Linked DNA regions of Homo sapiens: regions 1 and 3 are each linked to region 2. Evidence: promoter capture Hi-C in 16 types of primary human blood cells and fetal thymus (Javierre and others, 2016). All regions are on one chromosome and are shown on one strand. Each heading gives the region's core, a stretch centred on a gene start or on the middle of the fragment in contact. The rest is flanking DNA. Distances are from core to core; before and after follow the strand shown. Region 1 overlaps MED12L (mediator complex subunit 12L). Region 2 holds the start of MBNL1 (muscleblind like splicing regulator 1). Region 3 overlaps MED12L (mediator complex subunit 12L).

The links. Contacts are between HindIII fragments. The CHiCAGO score rates a contact against its expected background, and 5 or more counts as called.
Region 1: a contact is called between a fragment that was not itself captured here and the fragment with the promoter of MBNL1 in region 2, in 1 of 17 cell types (neutrophils). The highest score is 5.4, in neutrophils.
Region 3: a fragment that was not itself captured here is called in contact with the fragment with the promoter of MBNL1 in region 2 in 2 of 17 cell types (monocytes and neutrophils); the score reaches 5.4 in monocytes.

What each region holds. Positions count from the first base shown.
Region 1 is chr3:151,385,009-151,387,708 of GRCh38, reverse strand. MED12L (mediator complex subunit 12L) reads right to left here. Exons shown (of 45, transcript NM_001393769.1): 36 at 2,518-2,679. Among named protein-coding and RNA genes, the nearest start is that of P2RY12, 1.6 kb to the right of the region's middle. The HindIII fragment of the contact is 1,767 bases long and covers 480-2,246 here.
Region 2 is chr3:152,267,672-152,270,371 of GRCh38, reverse strand. It overlaps MBNL1 (muscleblind like splicing regulator 1), which reads right to left and starts at 1,443. Exons shown (of 10, transcript NM_021038.5): 1 at 1,280-1,443. MBNL1-AS1 (MBNL1 antisense RNA 1) reads left to right here and starts at 746. Exons shown (of 2, transcript NR_027038.1): 1 at 746-944; 2 at 1,300-2,700. RefSeq lists silencers at 996-1,105, 1,506-1,555, 1,606-1,665 and enhancers at 556-1,397, 1,856-1,955, 1,398-2,240. The HindIII fragment of the contact is 10,088 bases long and covers 1-2,700 here.
Region 3 is chr3:151,321,865-151,324,564 of GRCh38, reverse strand. All of the region lies in intron 16 of MED12L (mediator complex subunit 12L), which reads right to left. Among named protein-coding and RNA genes, the nearest start is that of P2RY13, 6.3 kb to the left of the region's middle. The HindIII fragment of the contact is 3,707 bases long and covers 1-2,700 here.

The DNA.
Region 1 (2,700 bases), core at 114-2,613, 880 kb after region 2:
TGAGCCCTAGAGAACCCGAGAATACAGCAGAGAGGGTTACACAGCTACATCACCGGAGAGCAGTGGCTAGAATTCAGACCTTTGTAAGCCCGGTTCTACAGTTCTTTAACCACATGATGCTCTGTTTAGGCAACAGAGGCAGTCTAGCATATTTTATTGTTAATGTGTATTTCCTCTTTTTGCTAAAAAAATTCTAAAAATTTGTTGCTAAAAATTCTAACACTGCAAAGTTAATCTTACTAAATTATAACCAGTTCTAAATCTCTGTAATCTATTTATAATTTTGAAGATAATATCAAATTTAAGAGTCAAGTTATAGTCAACCTGTAATTGGGTTAGTATTAACTTCAATCCAAATCTGCATGAACTTGGTTCAATATGTGGGCCCTGTACTTAATAAGCCATACTCTGAATATAATATTATTATTAGAGAATTAAATTGTAGCAGCAGGAATAAGTAAAGTCTTTCAACTCAAGCTTATATTTACTGACTCTAGAAAAAAAAAAACGGTTACCCTCTTTTTATTCTTAACATTAATTGGTGACATCTCTTGGCACTTGCCTTAAAATGTCAATTTAAAAATATTTTTCCTTAAATGGCCCCCAAATAACTACTCAGTCATTCCCTAAGATGTAAGTGTTACTGTTGTTATCTATATGCATTCTTTTATGAGTAGCTTCATCTAAAACTAAGGTTCAGGCCAGGCACAGTGGCTCGTGTCTGTAATCCCAACACTTGGTGAGGCTGAGGCGGGTGGGATCACCTGAGGTAAGGACTTTGAGACCAGCCTGGCCAACATGGTGAAACCCCGTCTCTACTAAGAATACAAAAAAAGGCTAGGTGTGGTGGCTCACACCTGTAATCTCAGCAATTTGGGAGGCTGAGGCAGGTGGATCACGAGGTCAGGAGTTCAAGACCAGCCTGGCCAAGATGGTGAAACTCCGTCTCCACTAAAAATACAAAAATTAGCCAGGCATGATGGCAGGCACCTGTAATCTCAGCTACTCAGGAGGCTGAGGCAGAGAATTGCTTGAACCCGGGAGGTGGAGGTTGCAGTGAGCCGAGATCACGCCACTGCACTCCAGCCTGGGTGACAGAGCAAGACTCTGTCTTGAAAAAAAAAAAAAAACAAAGACAAAAACAAAAAAAAATTAGCTGGGCCTGGTGGTGCATGTCTGTAATCCCAGGTACTCAGGAGGCTGAGACAGGAGAATCGTTTGAACCCGAGAGACAGAGGTTGCAGTGAGCAAAGATCGCACTACTGCACTCCAGCCTGGGCGACAGAGCGAGATTCCATCTCAAAAAATATAAATAAACAAAGTAAAACAAAATAAAACCAAGGTTCAATTGCCACCTGTAAATTGACTGTTTCCTAATATTTGTCTTGAGATGAGAACTTTTTCCTTGGTGTAAAAACCACACATCCAAATGGATTCCAGATGTCTTACTACCAGGAAGTCCGCTGACACTGCAAACTCAAACTTGACCATGACTTTAGCTTTTTTTCTTTACACAAACTGGTATTAGATTCTCAGGCTACTCTAAATTCCCTGGTAAATCTGATTCTTTCATGTCTTCATATAAACTCTCCCTTTATTTGTACCACAATTTTCCCTACCTCCCAGCTAACTCTTAATCCTTCAAAATGACTCGTGTCAATTTTCCTGGGGACCCTCTATTCTATCCCCTAATACTCTCTCTGTACCATGTCACACAAATCTCATTACACTGTAATTGTCTGTCTACTTCCCCCTTGAGGGTAGGAACTCTGTCTTTCATCTTGGTGATTGTGGAATGTCGGTGGTTGCTTACTGTTCATTAAAAGAGTAACTGACCAATTTTCTCATATTTTAGAGAACCATCTTTAATATCTTATATAAAACAAATGTCCATTAAATACTGCTTGATAGGAATAGAGAATATCCTAACAATTAAAATAATTTTTATTTGAAATAGCTTACTACAGGAAGGTTTTTTTTTTTTTTTCCCCCCCCAGAGACAGGGTCTCACTTTGTTGCCCAGGCTAGGGTGTAGTGGCTATTCACAGGCATGAGCCTAGCACATTGCAGCCTTAAACTCCTGGCTTCAAGCAATCCTCCTGCCTCAGCCTCCCAAGTAGCTGGAACTAAAGACATGTGCCACCATGCTCAGCTTACAAGAAATTTTTCATTGATAAATATATTCTGCTTCTAAATCTGAAGTATAATCAGAACTTATTTATGCAATTTTTTTTTTACACTAAGCTTTTACTTAGTTTTCTCTTGGTAGGTTTCCAAAAATTTACTTAAATTCAGGGAAACATTTTAAGTCCTTTAAACATATAAAACGTAGATCTTCAAAGATATGACCTCTTTATATGATAATGCCAATGACTAAGTACACTTAGAAGACAAGCATATGCCTTAAAAACATCAACAGCAAAATTAATATATTTTATATATCCTATGGTAAGACAAAAAAAAGTATTTCATCTTTTGTAAATAAATTTATATATAAGAAAAAACATTCACTCTTGCCTGTTTTTTATCTATAGAGTCAAATCCAGCAATTTTGTTTCCTTTTGTGTCAATCAAGGAACCCATAGGTTCACAAGTGATGACATCACATGTCTGTTTCGGCAAAGGTAGTAACTGTCGAACTTTGTCAATACTTTCTGATCGCTTGTCTCCTAGCTCTTTCTAAAGAAAAAAGAGAGAGAG
Region 2 (2,700 bases), core at 194-2,693:
GTAGTATTTCAAAGCACGCTGCAGAGGGCTCGAAAGTCTAAAAGCATTAATTATGACTTCTCTCCTAGCGTATTAATTTAAGAAACTCCTCAGAGTATATGGCAGAGTTTGCCATCCATCTGCTATGACTTGTGCCTGTGCTGGTGGGCACACAAAGTGAAGTCAGCGGCAACAACCTTTCCGGCAGCTTCTTAACTTTAATCCTGGGGAGACATACTCCACGGAAATACACCCCAGAATCCCAACAGCCGCATACTCTCCCGGCCCCAGAGAGCCTTAAGAATACAATATTACTCTGGCAGCAACACCCCTGTAGTTGTAAAGTGCTGTGCGAGGGGAAGGCATAAGCGCCACCATATACCTGCTCGTGTTACAGGCTCTGGAATCAAAGTATTCTCACATGACACATTACTACCAATAACAGATTCCGGCTCCGTTTAAAAAAAAAAAAAAAAGTTGGGGGGTGGCTACATATTTGTCCTGCTTTTGTCTAAAAACCAGAACCCAAGTACTAACTACTTTTCATTCTTTTCAACCTTTCATGAAAGCAATTCAACCAACTGCGGCTCCACCCAAAGAGCTTCTATACTTACTTTTCTTACAGTTTTTGAGTGACGCACTACAAAACGATGAAAAAAAAAAGAAGAAGAAGAAAAGGAGGAGGCAGCCCTCTCCTACAGGGCGTCTTCCGCCCTGTAAACTTGGCAAAAGGCAAACTGGCCTGAAATACAGCACTCTCCATATAAGGCAGCCCAGCTAAACATGTCATGCGTAATTTATGGGTAGCAAGCAGAGAATTAACCTTTGCGTGCACATATTTGGCCCAGATGAAAACCGGGCGGGATGGCAGCCCCGGGGCCAGGGATGCGGGAGCCGCCGGGAAGACCCGCGCGCCGCTCGACTCAGAGGGACTCACACCTTCCCCCGACAAAGGTCATTAAGTTGTGAGTACACTTGCACGCACCTGTTTCTCTTCTCGCCCCCCTGTTTCTCCCTGGGTCCCGCTGGGCTGCCAAGCCGTGCGCGGGCTGTGCCGTGACAGCGTCCGCAGAGCCCGCGGCAGGGAAGGGCGCAGGAGCGGCTGCGGCTCACCCTCCCGCCTTCCCCCGGGCAGGAGGTGCTGAGGGACGCGAAACCAACTACCGCGAGCGGCCCGCCCCTGCCCGGGAGAACCGCGGCCGGCGAGCACCTCCTCGCACTTCCTCCTTCAGCCACGGGCAGACCCGCCGGAGTCCGAACAATGAAGCGGCGCGGGGAAACTGTGAAAATGGAAACTTACCTCTCACATTTTTTTTTCAGAGGCGGCCCCACTGTCGACCAAGTGCCCAAGGCATTGTGGGAGTCATGATTCCAAGATGCCCGCGACGGAAAATGGAACTTGTCAGCTCCTTGTCATGGGAGCATTGTGGGCGCCACAACTCATTCAGCTGCAGTGAAAAGACTGTTGCATGTCGCTGTGCAGCCTCTTATCGCCGAGGTCTGGCTTCCGCTGCTGCTGCGCGGCCCCTCCCCCGCCCGCCCAGCCCCACCAGGAAGCCCAGGGCGGACTCGTCGAGCTCCTAATGCACGCGGCGGCGAGAAAAACGCTCTTCAACTTTCCGCCGGCGCCCTCCCGCGCTTCCCCGGGCCACAGGGTCGCCTGTCAACCGGACAGAGCCCGCAAGAGCGGGTCATGGGCGGTCGCCCAGCGGCGCCGAGAGCAGGAGGAAGCCGGAGCCCGCGCGGGCGCCGTGGATCCCCTCGGCCTCCCGTTGGTATCTTCCATCTCATGCGTTCAGCATTGTAACCTCGCGGCGGGCGTGCAGACCGGACGCCCTCCCGCTTCTTCTACCGACTGCTAGGCACACCAGTGGGTTCATTTTGAAAGAGGCCCTTGCACCGGGCTTTGCAAGGAAGCCGGCAAGGTTAGATTGAAGGTTAGAAGCCAATTAGACTAGAATCCTGCGATCTGGTGAGACTGCCGCCTTAAAATGCACCAAACAGTTTTTGAACCTGGAGGGCTAACAGGCGGGAAAAACATCTGCAAGACTGCCACCGTGTATTTTTCTCAAGTAACAGGCTATCCACAGTTTTGGAATTCCTTAGTGAAACTGTCACACAGGCACAAACACATGTCAGCTTTCCTTCTAGTTTGTAAATAATATTTGTAATTTACAGGCCACTGTATTCCCAACTTTGCACCATGTGATTTAGAGAAAGCAAAGCTCCCTCTTTAAAAATAATATGTTACTTCTGAAATACCGGGATATTCCACGGCAAGTAAGCCATATTGTCGCCAGAGCAAATAAACCGCAGCCCCATATCATAATTCACTGGGTGCTATAAGATGTAACTTGGCTTTGCTTTGAATGGAAAGAATCCTGAACGTCTGTGATGTGATGAAGTTTTGGAGACTGGGGGCAGGATTTCCTTTGAATGTAAGGAATTCGGATAACTTGTTCAAGGATGATTCTAGTGAAAAACGTTTGTCCCATGTTTGTTGGGACAAAAATGCTGGATATGGTACAACATTCTTCCTGCAGGTTCGGTTTTGTTGAAGAGAGTGAGGCCAGCTCGAGGTGAAGGAAAAACATCAGAAAGGTGCTAAAGTGCAGAAATATCTTCCAGAGGCACTAATAGCCGACTTTAGTTCTTGACCTTTAGCTAGATCCACAAAGCACTGAGTTAAAATTGTACACTGATCCCTTCCAGAACAAATTA
Region 3 (2,700 bases), core at 89-2,588, 950 kb after region 2:
CATCTGCAGGAATGGGGCTTTAATTGAGACGTGGCTTCTAAGCCCATATTCTTAACAACTGTATTTACAACCTCAGGTCTAATTTTCTCAAGTGAATTCACAATTCCAGTCTCCCATGCTATATTTCCTGTTATTTACAAAACTTCCGTAGCCACCCCCATGCTCCCTGACCCCACAAAAACGATACGTTTCTGTGTGGGTAGTAACCAGCCCAGATGCTGCCAGGTAATAAGCCCTGACCTAGAGGCTAACAAGAACCTCCCAGGACCTTACCCAAGCAGCTCACACTCATTTCCTGAATGCCTGCTGTGTGCCAGGCTCTTTACAAAGATTATCATTTTTCTAATTCTTACTACAATCTTATGAGACAAATACTACTAGGCTCTCTAGTTAAAAATAGGAACAAAACTGAAGCACAAAGTAAACATACACCTTGCCCATGGTGCACATCACTCACCAACAAATGGGGCAGAGCTGGGACTGAAACCCAGGAAGGTGGTCTCAAGACCAGCACCTCAACTGCTCTGGTCACTGCCTCTCTGTCCTGTCAGACTTAGCAGAATTCCTCAAAGGCCCCACTAGGGAGAATGAGGAGGCTTCTTAGAGGGGAAGAGAGAAGTCTCAACACGAATGGGCTTCAACAACCTCAGGGGTATGAATGGTGCAATAGTGGCACCTACAATTACTTCAGGGGTCCCTCCAGCACTTGAGAGCTCAGGGGGAGTAAACTCCCCAATAGTGGATTCATTTGTTCATTTAGCCAGTCATTCCTTCATCATCAACTTGGGTACAGGGCCTTTTGCATCTCTAGAAGGTGAACACTGGTAAGGAACACAGATTATAATGACTCAAGATGTGATAAGAGGTGTGAGAGACACACCACAGAAGTTCAAAGGAATAGGCAATTCATTCCACATGGAGAAAATGAAGAAGGGTTCACAGGAGATGGAAATTTGAACTGGAACTTGAAGAAAACAGAGCATTCAAAAGGGAACCCTGCGGCACAATAAGCAGTTTCAAGGCAGGCTCAGGTAGGGGTGGAACTGTGCTGTGGTTGGAGCGTGAGGGTTGCAGGGGGCCTGAGCCTACAGCACATGACATAGGGAATACATTTGGGACAGAGATGCAGGACTGTACAGCCAAGCACTGTACTGGGACATCTAGTCTTCACTAATGAGTCGTTGAAGGTTTCTAAGGTGAAGAACCACATGTTCTGGGCTGTGCTTTAGGAAAATCAATTGACCAACTATAGGATGATTCTAGACTGAAGGAAGAGCCAGTGAGGCCAGGTCAATTAAAGAGGCTTTCCATGTATGCAGGCAAGAATGATGGGGAAAACATCTGACATGGACCTTCCAGACATTCTCAGGGAGAGAGGTTTTAAGTTCAGAGTCCAAGACCATTGAAAGTGGGGGACTCTATGTAAAACATGTGGTTAACATGTAAAATATATTAGCAATGGGATCCATAATGCCTCCACCCCCTTCTCCTCGAATTGAGGGTTGATTTCTCTCAGGACCGTTAGCTTGAACGATTTGCTAGGTCATCATCACAGAAGTGGATTTGGGGTATGTTCCATTTGAGGTATCAGTGAAAGAGCTAGGGTCAAAGAGCCCACAGCTGGGCCAAAATATGGACCCAGGCTCCAAAAATAGGACTAAGATTAGAGGTCTAGGGAATAATCTTTTTTGAGACAGGGAGAGAAAAAGGAATGAGATGAGAACCCCAGAGGCCATACTACACAGGTCTCATGGTCACAACAGACAGAAGAGGAACAGGGGATGATGCCTTGGAACTGGGAGGAGTGGGTAGTGTTAGTAGAAAAGGAGAATCAGGAAGTCCAGTGTACTGAATACCAAGGAACAAGAGAGATTCAAGGAGGAAGAGATAGCCAACAGAATTATACACTCTAAATTTAGTCAAAAGTGATGAATCTACAACTATAAGGTCAACGATAACTCTGAGGTGGAAGTGGGGTGAGCTCCAGTTTGTGAATGGGAAGTGAGGAAGTAGAAGCAACCCTTATCTTCCCATAATGGATAAGTCAGTTTAAAAGAGTTCCATGGGGCGCCAGATGCAGTAGCTCACACCTATAATCCCAGCATTTTGGGAGGCCAAGGCAGGTGAATTGCTTGAGCCCAGGAGTTTGAGACCAGCCTGGACAACATGGTAAAACCGCAACTCTACAAAAAATAAAAAAATAAAAAAAAAATTACCTGGGCCTGGTGGCATGCACCTGTAGTCCCAGCAACTCGGGAGGCAAAAGTGTGAGAATCACTTGAGTCCAGGAGGTTGAGGTTGCAGTGGGCCATGATCACACCACTGCACTCCAGCCTGGATGACAGAGCAAGACCCTGCCTCAAAAGACTTCCAGGGAGAAACAAATCAGCTTTTATATTAGTTAGGCTTTTCCCAGGGATTTCTATGAACATGTAGAATAATTCCTTTCTATGCTATGATGTGCATAGTGAACATGTTCCATGTGAAATAGCTAACAGAGAAGTACAAATCAAACAGTTGGGTGCAACCACACAGGCCAGAGAACTCAGCCTTGGTCAGAAACTGGGTGTATCAATATTTTCAATATCCATGTAACCCGGGTTTCTGCTTCCTTGCCTCCATTCTCATTCTAATATGAAGTCCTTATAGAAAAAAATAAGATGGGAAGAAAGGAAGTCAGAGGAAAGGAGAGATGGGGAC